3 separate regions of the Homo sapiens genome follow, and regions 1 and 2 are each linked to region 3. Evidence: promoter capture Hi-C in 16 types of primary human blood cells and fetal thymus (Javierre and others, 2016). All regions are on one chromosome and are shown on one strand. Each heading gives the region's core, a stretch centred on a gene start or on the middle of the fragment in contact. The rest is flanking DNA. Distances are from core to core; before and after follow the strand shown.

Region 1 (3,314 bases), core at 705-3,204, 130 kb after region 3:
CCGCCAGCCCCCACTCGGGCCAGCAGAAGCTCTCTGCAGAGAAGAGCAGGCGGCTGCCACTCTGGACGAACTTCTTCAGCAGCTCTGTGGGGCTGCCGGCCAGAATCACGTCGTAGCTGGGTGAGGAAGGGGAGGATGGGCAGGGGTCCACTGGGAACCTCAGCATCCTTACCCCGCTCCCTATCCCCAGCCCCGTTACCTATCCACAAACATGATGATCATATCCTCCCGGTCAGCGTATTTCTCCATTTCCTTCTTTAACCACCGGACCTTCTGTCCTCCACCAACTGTTCGAGCCACATCACCCCCTCGCCACTCCTCTCCCAGGCCCAGGGTCTGTGGAGAAGATTGCCCCGTGCCAGGCAAGGGGTGGGGAGTTGTGGGGGGAACTCCTGACCAGGCTTACCGTGGGGACCTGGGCATCCAGACTTCAGCCCACCCCTCCTGCTGGGACCCCCTCCCAGGGGCCTTTCCCTCTCCTCACCCGCACAGTGTAGTTGAAGAACTCCGCAGAGCGCAGGAAACGCAGGTACCCCTCGGTTTCAGCTGTGGCCACAGTGATCACCAGCAGCTTCTCTGTTACCAGAGGGAAATGGCACTTGAGATCCACCGCCCAGCTCCGGGCCTCACGTGCTTTGCTGTCCTCCCTCTCACTCGACTTCCCTCCCTTTCTTCCTTCCCATTCTTAAACTCTTCTCACCCAGGAACACTCTGACCCCAAGGAGGGCAGGGTGGGAGTGGTGCCCAGGAATTCCGAGTCCCTTTGCATAGGGAGGCTGGAAACCCCAGTTCAGGGTAGTGATGGGCGAGGGGCTTGGCGCGACTCAGCCTCAAGAGCACGCTGGGCGGGGGACGGGCCAGACACCTCCTCGAGCCTCCGACCCTCTCCGGGCCAGGCTGGCAGGCACGCCAGCCTCTGCCCCCTCGGCCGTGCCGGGCCTCCCCGGGATCTCACCTGGGTTGACCGGGTCTCGGCCCCGGGGCCGGTCGGAGGCTGAGGCCGCAGGGGGCAGCAGCAGCGGCAGCAGCAGCAGGAACCGGGGTCCAGGCCCCGAGGAGGTCATGGTGGGGAGCGGGCCCAGACAGCACCCAGGATCCTGGGATCTCCGCTACGCGCCTGGATCCCAGCTCCGGAGGGGAGCTCTGGAAAGGGGGCGCTCGGGCTGCTGTGCGGCCGCCGCGGGGAGCAGCTTGGCTGGGGCTACGCCCTGAAAAAAAGGCGTATCCGGAGGCTACAGAAAGCTCCAGATGCCGGCGCCACAGACAAGGCGAGGATTGTCCCGGGCGCACGGGAGGCGGGGGAGGGGCGGCGGCTCGGGCCGGCGGGCGGGAGACAGGGACTCTGGGCTGAGCCAGCCGCTTGACACATGTGGAAGCTGAAACCTGGACAGGGGAAGTGACCCCTGGCGGAGGGTCGGGCGGGACGCGGGGGCGGGTCCTGGCCGCAGCCCTGCCCAGAGAGTGCGGGCGGAAGACGGGGAGAGCGAGAGGCTGGCGGCGACAGGGAGGGAGGAAGCCTAGGAGTCCGCCGCGGGACGGAGGCCTGGGGGAACTGGGAGTTCAGCTTTCTGCAGAGGGCCACTAGGAACCTCGGATTGCCCACGGAAGCCAGCCACTTTCTTTGACAGTCCAGCCCACCTCCTCTTCTGCCCGGAGAAGCTCCAGGGGCTGCCTTTGTGATCACAGCATCTTCACAAGGACCAAAGGAAAATAAGATTTCTTGTAAGAACACCGTGACCACATCTTTAAAATGACCCATTTCGTGGCTCCCACAAGATTTACACCTCCACACTGAGGCCGGAAGTGGTTTTGCCCCTATAAAACATGGCGAAAAGCTTTCTTGTCTCCAAGGAAACGCCACGTAATGAGTCAAAGCTGTGGCGCACGCGCAGAAGTACAAGCTACCGGAAGTGATGGCGCCCCTACTAAAGCCTTGGGGTTAGTACGCGTGCGCAGCAGTTTCTTCCGACAGTTGTGTTGTGCCAATGGTGGAGAAGAAAACTTCGGGTATGTGAGCCCCCGCGGTTCGCCCCCTTCCCCTTCCCAAGTCAGTCCTAGAATTTTCTTACCTAGTCATTCCTCTTTTTTGGTCTCGCTCTTTCGCCTAGGCTGGAGTGCAGTGGCATAGTCATAGCTCACTGCAGCCTCGATTTCCTGGGATCAAACCATCCTCCCACCTCAGCCTCCGGAGTGGCTGGAACTGCAAGCATGAGGCCCCACGCCTGGTTAATTTTTAATTTGTTATGTGGTGACGGGCTCTCGCTATGTTGCCCAGGTTGGTCTCCAACTCTTGGCCTCAAAGCGATCCTCCTGCGTGGGCCTTCCAAAGTGCTGGGATTACAGGCGTGAGCTGCCGCGCCCGGCCCCAGCTATTCCTCGTAAATCCCTTCCTCAGCCCTCGGGTCCTGGCGTTGACCCTTCATTCACGTTTTATTGGTGCCTGCTCCAAGCCGGGCGCTGGGGATGAAGAGGAGAAAGACCCCTCTTATCCAAGCATTGGCTTTTTCTGGAAGGGGGGCAGAAACGCAGACCTAACACTGTATTTTACTGTGATTTGTGATTTGTGCTATGGCAGAGGGAAGCACAGCGCCTGGGAACAGGGAGACGTGGCATCTAGCCCAGGTTCTGGGAGGCAGGGGACTGTGAAAGCTTGAAGGAAAAATGAAAAAGCTTGAATTGAGTCTTGAAAGTCTAGTTAGGGTTTCTCTCAGTGGGAACCTCACGTGCAAAGGCAGTGAAGCAAGAAAAAGCAAGTCGCTTAGGAAGCCAAGTTCACAGTTTGGATCTTACAGAGTAATAAGAAAGGATCGAAGGCTGGGGAAAGGTTACATTTTGAAAGGCATTATACACACTGCCCAGGAGTTTGAACTCTGTAGGGAAACACTGGAGAGCCAGCAAAGACTTTTTTTTTTTAGACAGAGTCTTGCTCTGTCACCCAGGCTGGAATGCAGTGGTTCTATATAACTCACTGCAGCCTCAACCTCCCATGCTCAAGTGATTCTTCCACCTCAGCCACCTGAGTAGGTGGAACTACAGGTGGGTGCAGGCCACCATGCTGGGCTAGTTTTTATATTTTTTGTTGAGATGGGTGTCTCACTATGTTGCCCAGGCTGGTCTTGAACTCCTGAGCTCATGTGATCCTCCTGCCTCGGCCTTCCAAAATGCTAGGATTACAAGTATGAGCCACTGCGCTTGGCCCTTTTAGTTTTTCTTTCTTTCTTTTTTTTTCTTTTTGAGACGGAGTCTTGCTCTGTCCCCCAGGCTGGAGTGCAGTGGCGCAATCTCGGTTCACTGCAAGCTCTGCCTCCCGGGTT
Region 2 (3,348 bases), core at 230-2,729, 220 kb after region 3:
TTCTGGGGTCTTGGGTAATCGTTAGAGCGAAATAAAAATAATTTCCCTTAGAGATGGTCGATTTTGCAAGATTAGTTATCATCCAGCAGTTAGGTAAAGATGATCTGATTCAGTTACTGAATCTGATCAGTACTGAATTCAGTAGGCACAGTAATCCTAACAGGTGAATGTAGCTGAAGTACATTGTCATGGTCAAGAAAAGCCACTCTCTCTAACAGATTGCCCACACAGCTACATGTCAGCCCTCCTCGCTGCAAACCTGACAAACACTGTAGCATTTTATTATTTATTTATTTATTATTTAGAGATGTGGTCTTTCTGTACCCAGGCTGGAATGCAGTAGTGCAATTTCACTGCAGCCTCCATTTTCCGAGCTCATGCAATTATCCAGTCTCAGTCTCCCAAGTAGCTGGGACTACAGGCATGAGCCATGAGGCCTGTCTAATTTTTTTTTTTTTTTTTTTTGGTCGGAGCTTTGCTCTTGTTGCTCAGGCTGGAGTGCAATGGCACGATCATGGCTCACTGCAACCTCCGCCTCCCAGGTTCGTGCCTCAGCCTCCAGATTAGCTGGGATTACAGGCACCCGCCACCACATCCAGCTAGTTTTTGTATTTCTAGTAGACATGGGGTTTCCCAATGTTGGTCAGGCTGGTCTTGAACTCCTGACCTCAGGTGATCCTCCCGCCTGGGCCTCCCAGAGTGCTGGGATTACAGGGGCTGAGCCACCATGCCCAGCCTCCTGGCTAATTTTTGAACCTTTTTGTAGAAACAGGGTTTCACCATGTTGCCTAGTCTGGTCTTGAACTCCTGAACTCAAAGTGGTCTGCCTGCCTCAGCCTCCCAAAGTGCTGTGATTGCAGGAGTGAACCACACTTTGCCAAGCACACCCTAGCATGTTAATTCATCATTCTTTTTTTTTGGAGACGGCGTTTTTGCTTTGCAGGAGCCGAGATCTCGCCACTGCACTCCAGGCTGGGCGACAGAGTTAGAATCCATCTCAAAAAAAAAAAAATTAAAATTAAAAGAAAAAAGCATCCAAAAATGCATACATCAACGTAAAGGATTTTTTTTTTTTTGGTGAGATGGAGTCTCGCTCTTGTCGCCCAGGCAGGAGTGCAGTGGCGCGATCTTGGCTCACTACAACATCCGCCTCCCGGGTTCAAGCGATTCTCGTTACTCAGCCTCCCAAGTAGCTGGGATTACAGGCGCCCGCGACCACGCCCGGCTGATATTTTTATTTTTAGTAGAGACGGGGTTTCCCCATGTTGGCCAGGCTGGTCTCGAACTCCCTACCTCAGGTGATCCACCCGCCTCGGCCTCCCAGAGTGCTGGAATTACAGGCGTGAGCCACCGTGCCCGGCCAAATAGTCTATTTATATTAGCAAACACACCTGTGTGCACACGGAGCTTGCGGACCAGTCTGGAAGGGGAGGGCGGGGCCGACCCGGACCCTCCAGGGAACGCCCTTGAGTAACTCGCGCACTTGGGACCCATTCCCACCTAGGACCATAGGCTCAAGATGGCCTGGTGGATGCCGCCGGCACGCGCCTCTCCTCTGGCGGGAACCGAAGGCGCCGGTAGGTTTTCACACTTGCAGCCGATCGGCTAAGAGAACGCGGGATTCAGCCGAGAAGCCACTGGGAGCCCGAGGAGCGGAGCAGAGGCACCCAGGCAGCCTGCGCGGAGAAATCGGATCGGCTAGGACGGCCTGCAGCCCCTGCGCGCGGGGAAAGGGTGAGTGAGAGACCCCGGGGGCTCCGCAGTCCCCCCACGGACTTCCACAGCCCCCTGACCCTCGTGGACCTCCAGAGTAGGGGGCAGCGGGCGAGAGATTCCCCAGCGGCGTTGCAGGAGCCCACGTGGAGCCCACGGGCTTCCCTGCCCTGAGCAGCTGCAGCTGCAGCCGCCGCCGCCCAGCTGAGGGCCAGGGAGGGAGCGGGGAGGCCAGAGGCTTTCATACGTCCGAAAAGACTAATAACCCCACCGCCACCGCGGGACTCAGACGCGAACCAACCGCTTGCCTGCTCTACCCCGCCTGAGCTTTCCTGGGGACCAGCCCTTCCCTGTCCGTCCTAGCCAGCGACCGAACCCCGGGGCCCTCAGGACAGTCCGCTGGTGGTTCTGCCTCCTGAGGACTTGCGCACGCGGGCCGGAGGCCTGGGGATTGGTGACTATTCTGCCTCTTCCGCCACCGTTGGCGGCTGAACACTCCTCCCCGGTGTCTGAGTTCAGGGGCCCAGCCTGCGGATAACACCTCAGGCTACCTACAGGCCCGGGGACTCGCGTGCCCGCCCAACCTGGTCAGCCACCACCAACACCAGCAGGGACCGCCTGGATTCCGGAGGGTTGCCCCCCCAACTGCAACTACCCTGCCCACATCACACCCACTGCCCCAACGCCTGAGATCAGCCACACCCCCAGCCAGTGGCTGCCACTACCAGCATTAGAGCAGGGCACCTAGAGACACACGAATCACTCCCCACAACCCGCTAATAACAGAGCCAGCATGCACTGCTCTGGGACTAAAGAATAGGTAAGATCAGGCCACCACTGGGGCCCAAATACTGGCCCACCTGGCCGCCTAGTCCCCAGCAACCACAGCCTCCACTAATAACCACACCCTAAGCCACCCAAGAAATCATACAGAGCCTACAGTACTACCCCAAATCAAAGCCAAAGTGCCCCAGCTAACCAACACCCTATCTACATTTTCAGGAAGAAGTCCTCCCCTACAAAGCGAGTTCACAAACTTGGAAGAAGCCACTTTCACAGGATGCACAGATCTCAACGGAAGGACACAGAAAACATGAAAAAGCAAGGAAATGGGGCGCCTCCAACGGAACCCAGTAATTCTCCAGCAGCAGATCCCCATCCAAAAGAAACAGAAGACATTTTGGAGAGAGAATTGAATATACATATTATACAGTTGTGGGCATAATACAAGCATCATTTGGAAAAGAACAGAGAAAAAAGATGGAAGGAGTTACCGTACTGCAGGAAAAAATTATCAACTCCAGTGATATTATTAAATACAACCTAACGACACTTCTGAAGCTGAAGAAATCACTGGATGAAATACAAAGTAAACTCAAAAGCTTCAGTGATAGACTAGAACAAGAAGAAGAAAGACTCTCAAAACTTGAAATCTGAAGCATGTTTCTTAAAGATTTAAAGGGTTATTATACTCTGGCCATTAATGTGAACGAAATCTGCTGGGTTAATTCTTATACTGGGGTCTTGGATAATCATTAAAGTGAAATGAGAATAATTTCTTTTTGAGATGATCAATTTTATGAGGTCGATTTTTTTTTTTTTTTTTTAATGAGACTGAGTCTTGCTCTGTCGCCC
Region 3 (3,527 bases), core at 780-3,279:
ATGGCACATGCAGCCTTGAAGTCCTGGGCTCAAGCGAACCTCCTGCTTCAGCCTCCTGAATAGCTGGGACTTCAGGTGTGAGCCATCAGGTAGCTAATATATATATTTTTTGAGATGGAGTCTCACTCTGTTGCCCAGGCTGGAGTGCAATGGTGCGATCTAGGCTCGCTGCAACCTCTGCCTCCCAGGTTTAAGCAGTTCTCCTGCCTCAGCCTACCGAGTAGCTAGGAAGGCTAGGTTTTGTTTTGTTTTGTTTTGTTTTTTAGTAGAGACGAGGTTTTGCCATGTTGGCCAGGCTGGTCTCGAACTCCTGGCCTCAAGTGATTCTCCCAAAGTGCTGAGATTACAGGTGTGAGCCACTGCACCTGGCCTGTTTTTCTGTCTTCACCTTGGTTGCCCGTCTGGTTGGTAGCATTCAACAGTGCTGACCCCCTCGTCCTTCTAGAAGTGCAGCATTTCCTGCCTTGGCCTCTGTGACCCTCTCTCTTTTGGATTTCCACCTACCTCTCTGGCATCTATGTCTCAGCCCCTCCACCTTTCACCTGGACCCTGAGGTCAGGCTCCCTTCTGTCCTCTCGGCTGCTGCCAGAGTGAGCTCTTACAGCTTCAGTTTCCTACTTAAATTCCGCCATGTGGATAAAAAGGTACAAACATGCATAGGTATGTCATGAATTAATTACGGTAAAATGATAATTGTAGAACAGAAGTGGTGGAGATATGGGTGTTCACCGCAATTCTTTCAACTTCTTTGTGCTTTGAATTTTTCATAAAATGAGGCTGTGCATGTTGGCTCACGCCTGTAATCCCAGCACTTTGGGAGGCCAAGGTGGGTGGATCACTTGAGGTCAGAAGTTCGAGACCAGCCTGGCCAACATAGTGAAACCCCATCTCTACTAAAAATACAAAAATTAGCTGGGCGTGGCAGTGAGTGCCCGTAATCCCAGCTACTTTGGAGGCTGAGGCAGGAGGATCGCTTGAACCCGGGAAGCGGAGGTTGCTGTGAGCTAAGATCACACCACTGCACTCCAGCCTGGGCGACAGAGCGAGGCTTTGTCTCAAAATAAAAATTATTTTTTCATGAAATGTTGAGGGAAATCTCCTGCAATGATTCTTTTGTCTTTTTTGATAAAATGCAGGCTTCTCTGCCAACACTCTCGTATCCTCTCCACACACATCATCCTAAATGGGGATGTACCCTTGCTGCTCCCAGTACCTGGAACAGGAACATTCTTCTCAGTGTTCTCCAGCCCTCTATGCCCTCTTACTGTTTTATTTTTTAGACAGGGTCTTGCTCTGTCATCCAGGCTGGAGTGCAGTGTCACCATCATGGCTCACTGCAGCCTCGACCTCCCAGGTTCAAGTGATTCTCCTGCCTCAGTCTCCTGAGTATCTGGGATTACAGGTATGCGCTACCATGCACGGCTAGCGAATTTTTTATGGAGACTGGGTCTCACCATATTGCCCAAGCTGGTCTTGAACTCCTGGGCTGAAGCAATCCTCCCGCCTTCTTTAAACTCATCTCATTGATGCCTTCTCCAGGAAGCCTGTGCTGTTCCCTCAGCAAGAGGCTTCTTACCTGATCCCCCACAGCCTCTCCTACAGCTCAGCAACGGTTTATGGAATGAAAGGCCTCTCTTGAAGCTTTGCAGGCACCTGCCTGCCTGAGGTGTTAGCAAATCTGCAGACCCGCCCTGAGGCCATGTGTCTAGTTACCCTGGTCTCTGAATCACAGATGAGCTCTCATTTCTTCCCACAAATAAACCCTGTGACCCTCCACCCTCTACTCAGAGAACCCGCCCTCAGGTAGTTCCCTGTTTGTGACATACACACACTTAGCCCTGAGGCTGGACTGACAGGCCGACCTGGCTGGTGGACTCCAGCCCAAGCCTGCCAGCTGCCTGCCGGGGTGGGGGCCTTGGCGGGAGAGGACGGGGCCGGGTGGGGAGGAAGGCGGGGCCTGAGGCTGTGCGAGGCGAGTCGGTGTGTCCCTGGCTGGGACGGAAGTTGCACCACAAGTACAATTAGTTTCAGTTTTGTTTCTTTTCCAGGCACCCAGCAACGGCGGCCTCCAGGCCTCAGGCCCCCTCACCATCCTAGAGGTCAAGATCAGCTCTGGCTAGGTAAGGGGTGGGGGGCGGCACAGCTATAGGAAGGACCGAGCGGAGGGAGTAGGGGGAGGGGAGTGGAGAGAGAGCGCGGGAGGAGGAGGAAGGGAAGGAAAGGGAGGGCGTGAAGAGGCACCCGGAAGGCAGGAGGAGAGGGCAGGAGGGAAACTGCACTCGCCTCCCTCCCGCTCCGTGGCCACAGGTCCCCGCAAGAAAGACCCCGTCCCACTCTCTGAGGTCTCCTCCCAGCTCCAGAAAAGGGGACATTCCACCTAGTCTGCCCAACAAGTAGGTCTCAGCCACTGTGCCAGGAGCTCGGGACTCCCTCCCTCCAGAGGTTTCTGGAATGCATTCAGCAGGAAAAGCTAAAAGAACAGGACTCCAGGAGATAAGCCAAGGCCAAGTCTATCAGAGGGTGAGCCAGCAGCGGGAAGGGGACCAGCCCTTCCCCTAGCGTTTTTTCTGCCCGCTCCAGAATCCGCTTTAGAAACTGTTAAATGCAGAAAGTGGGGCCTCCACCACCCGCGATGCTGCCCCAGGTCTAGCAGAAGACAGGTGTAAGGCCAGGCGGGTGCGGTGGCTCATGCCTGTAATCCTAATGCTTTGGGAAGGCCGAGACGGGAGGATAGCCTGAGGCCAGGAGTTGGAGACCAGCCTGGGCAACATAGCAAGACCCCATCTCTACAAAAAGTGATAATTTTTAAAAAATGGGCTGGCTGGGCCCCTGGGCATGGTGGCTCACGCCTATAATCCCAGCACTTTGGGAGACCGAGGAGGGCGGATCACCTGAGGTCAGGAGTTCAAGACCAGCCTGGCCAATAGGGCCAAACTCCATTTCTACTAAACATACAAAAATTAGCCGGGTGTGATGGTGCGCACCTGTAATCACAGCTACTCGGGAGGCTGAGGCAGGAGAATCACTTGAACCTGGCAGGTGGAGGTGGCAGTGAGCCAAGATCGCACCACTGCACTCCAGCCTGGGCAACAGAGTGAGACTCTGTCTCAAAAAAAAAAAAAAAAAAAAAAAAGGCTGGGCATGGTGGCACATGCCTGTACTCCCAACTACTCAAAAGACTTGAGTCTAGGAGTTTGAGGCTGCAGTGAACTACGATCACGCCACTGCACTCCAGCCTGGGTGACAGAGGGTGACCCTATTGCTAAAAACTAAAATAAAATAAAAAGAAGGCAGGTGTATGGGGCTTGGAGGATTAAAGCCCCCTAAGCTACTGCAAGATCCTACCCCAACTGGCAGGACCTAGGCATCTCTGCCCACTGGGATCCCCGTCTGTGTCCTTACTGCCTGCTCCTCGCACCCTGGCACCCTATACAGCAGGACCCCAGTACCTGTGCACACAGGAGGGCTTCCACCATGTTTGCCACAAGGCCTGTGGACTGGGGACACTGAGGATTCGATTATTAGCT

Evidence for each region. The method cuts DNA at HindIII sites, captures the fragments that hold promoters and counts their contacts. A CHiCAGO score of 5 or more calls a contact.
Region 1: the fragment with the promoter of ZNHIT1 here is called in contact with the fragment with the promoter of TRIM56 in region 3 in 1 of 17 cell types (megakaryocytes); the score reaches 5.8 in megakaryocytes.
Region 2: a contact is called between a fragment that was not itself captured here and the fragment with the promoter of TRIM56 in region 3, in 1 of 17 cell types (M0 macrophages). The highest score is 6.8, in M0 macrophages.

What each region holds. Positions count from the first base shown.
Region 1 is chr7:101,216,211-101,219,524 of GRCh38, forward strand. It overlaps ZNHIT1 (zinc finger HIT-type containing 1), which reads left to right and starts at 1,955. Exons shown (of 5, transcript NM_006349.3): 1 at 1,955-2,007. The coding sequence starts at 1,986. It overlaps PLOD3 (procollagen-lysine,2-oxoglutarate 5-dioxygenase 3), which reads right to left and starts at 1,371. Exons shown (of 19, transcript NM_001084.5): 1 at 956-1,371; 2 at 485-576; 3 at 200-336; 4 at 1-116. The coding sequence starts at 1,064. RefSeq lists enhancers at 477-999, 1,548-1,667, 1,761-2,302 and silencers at 798-917, 978-1,027, 1,168-1,447. The HindIII fragment of the contact is 814 bases long and covers 1,834-2,647 here.
Region 2 is chr7:101,301,295-101,304,642 of GRCh38, forward strand. LNCPRESS1 (lncRNA p53 regulated and ESC associated 1) reads left to right here. Exons shown (of 2, transcript NR_146480.1): 2 at 1-52. Among named protein-coding and RNA genes, the nearest start is that of LNCPRESS1, 3.4 kb to the left of the region's middle. RefSeq lists enhancers at 813-1,514, 1,515-2,217. The HindIII fragment of the contact is 3,228 bases long and covers 1-3,093 here.
Region 3 is chr7:101,083,452-101,086,978 of GRCh38, forward strand. TRIM56 (tripartite motif containing 56) reads left to right here and starts at 2,030. Exons shown (of 3, transcript NM_030961.3): 1 at 2,030-2,120. RefSeq lists enhancers at 387-887, 1,591-1,640. The HindIII fragment of the contact is 9,878 bases long and covers 1,640-3,527 here.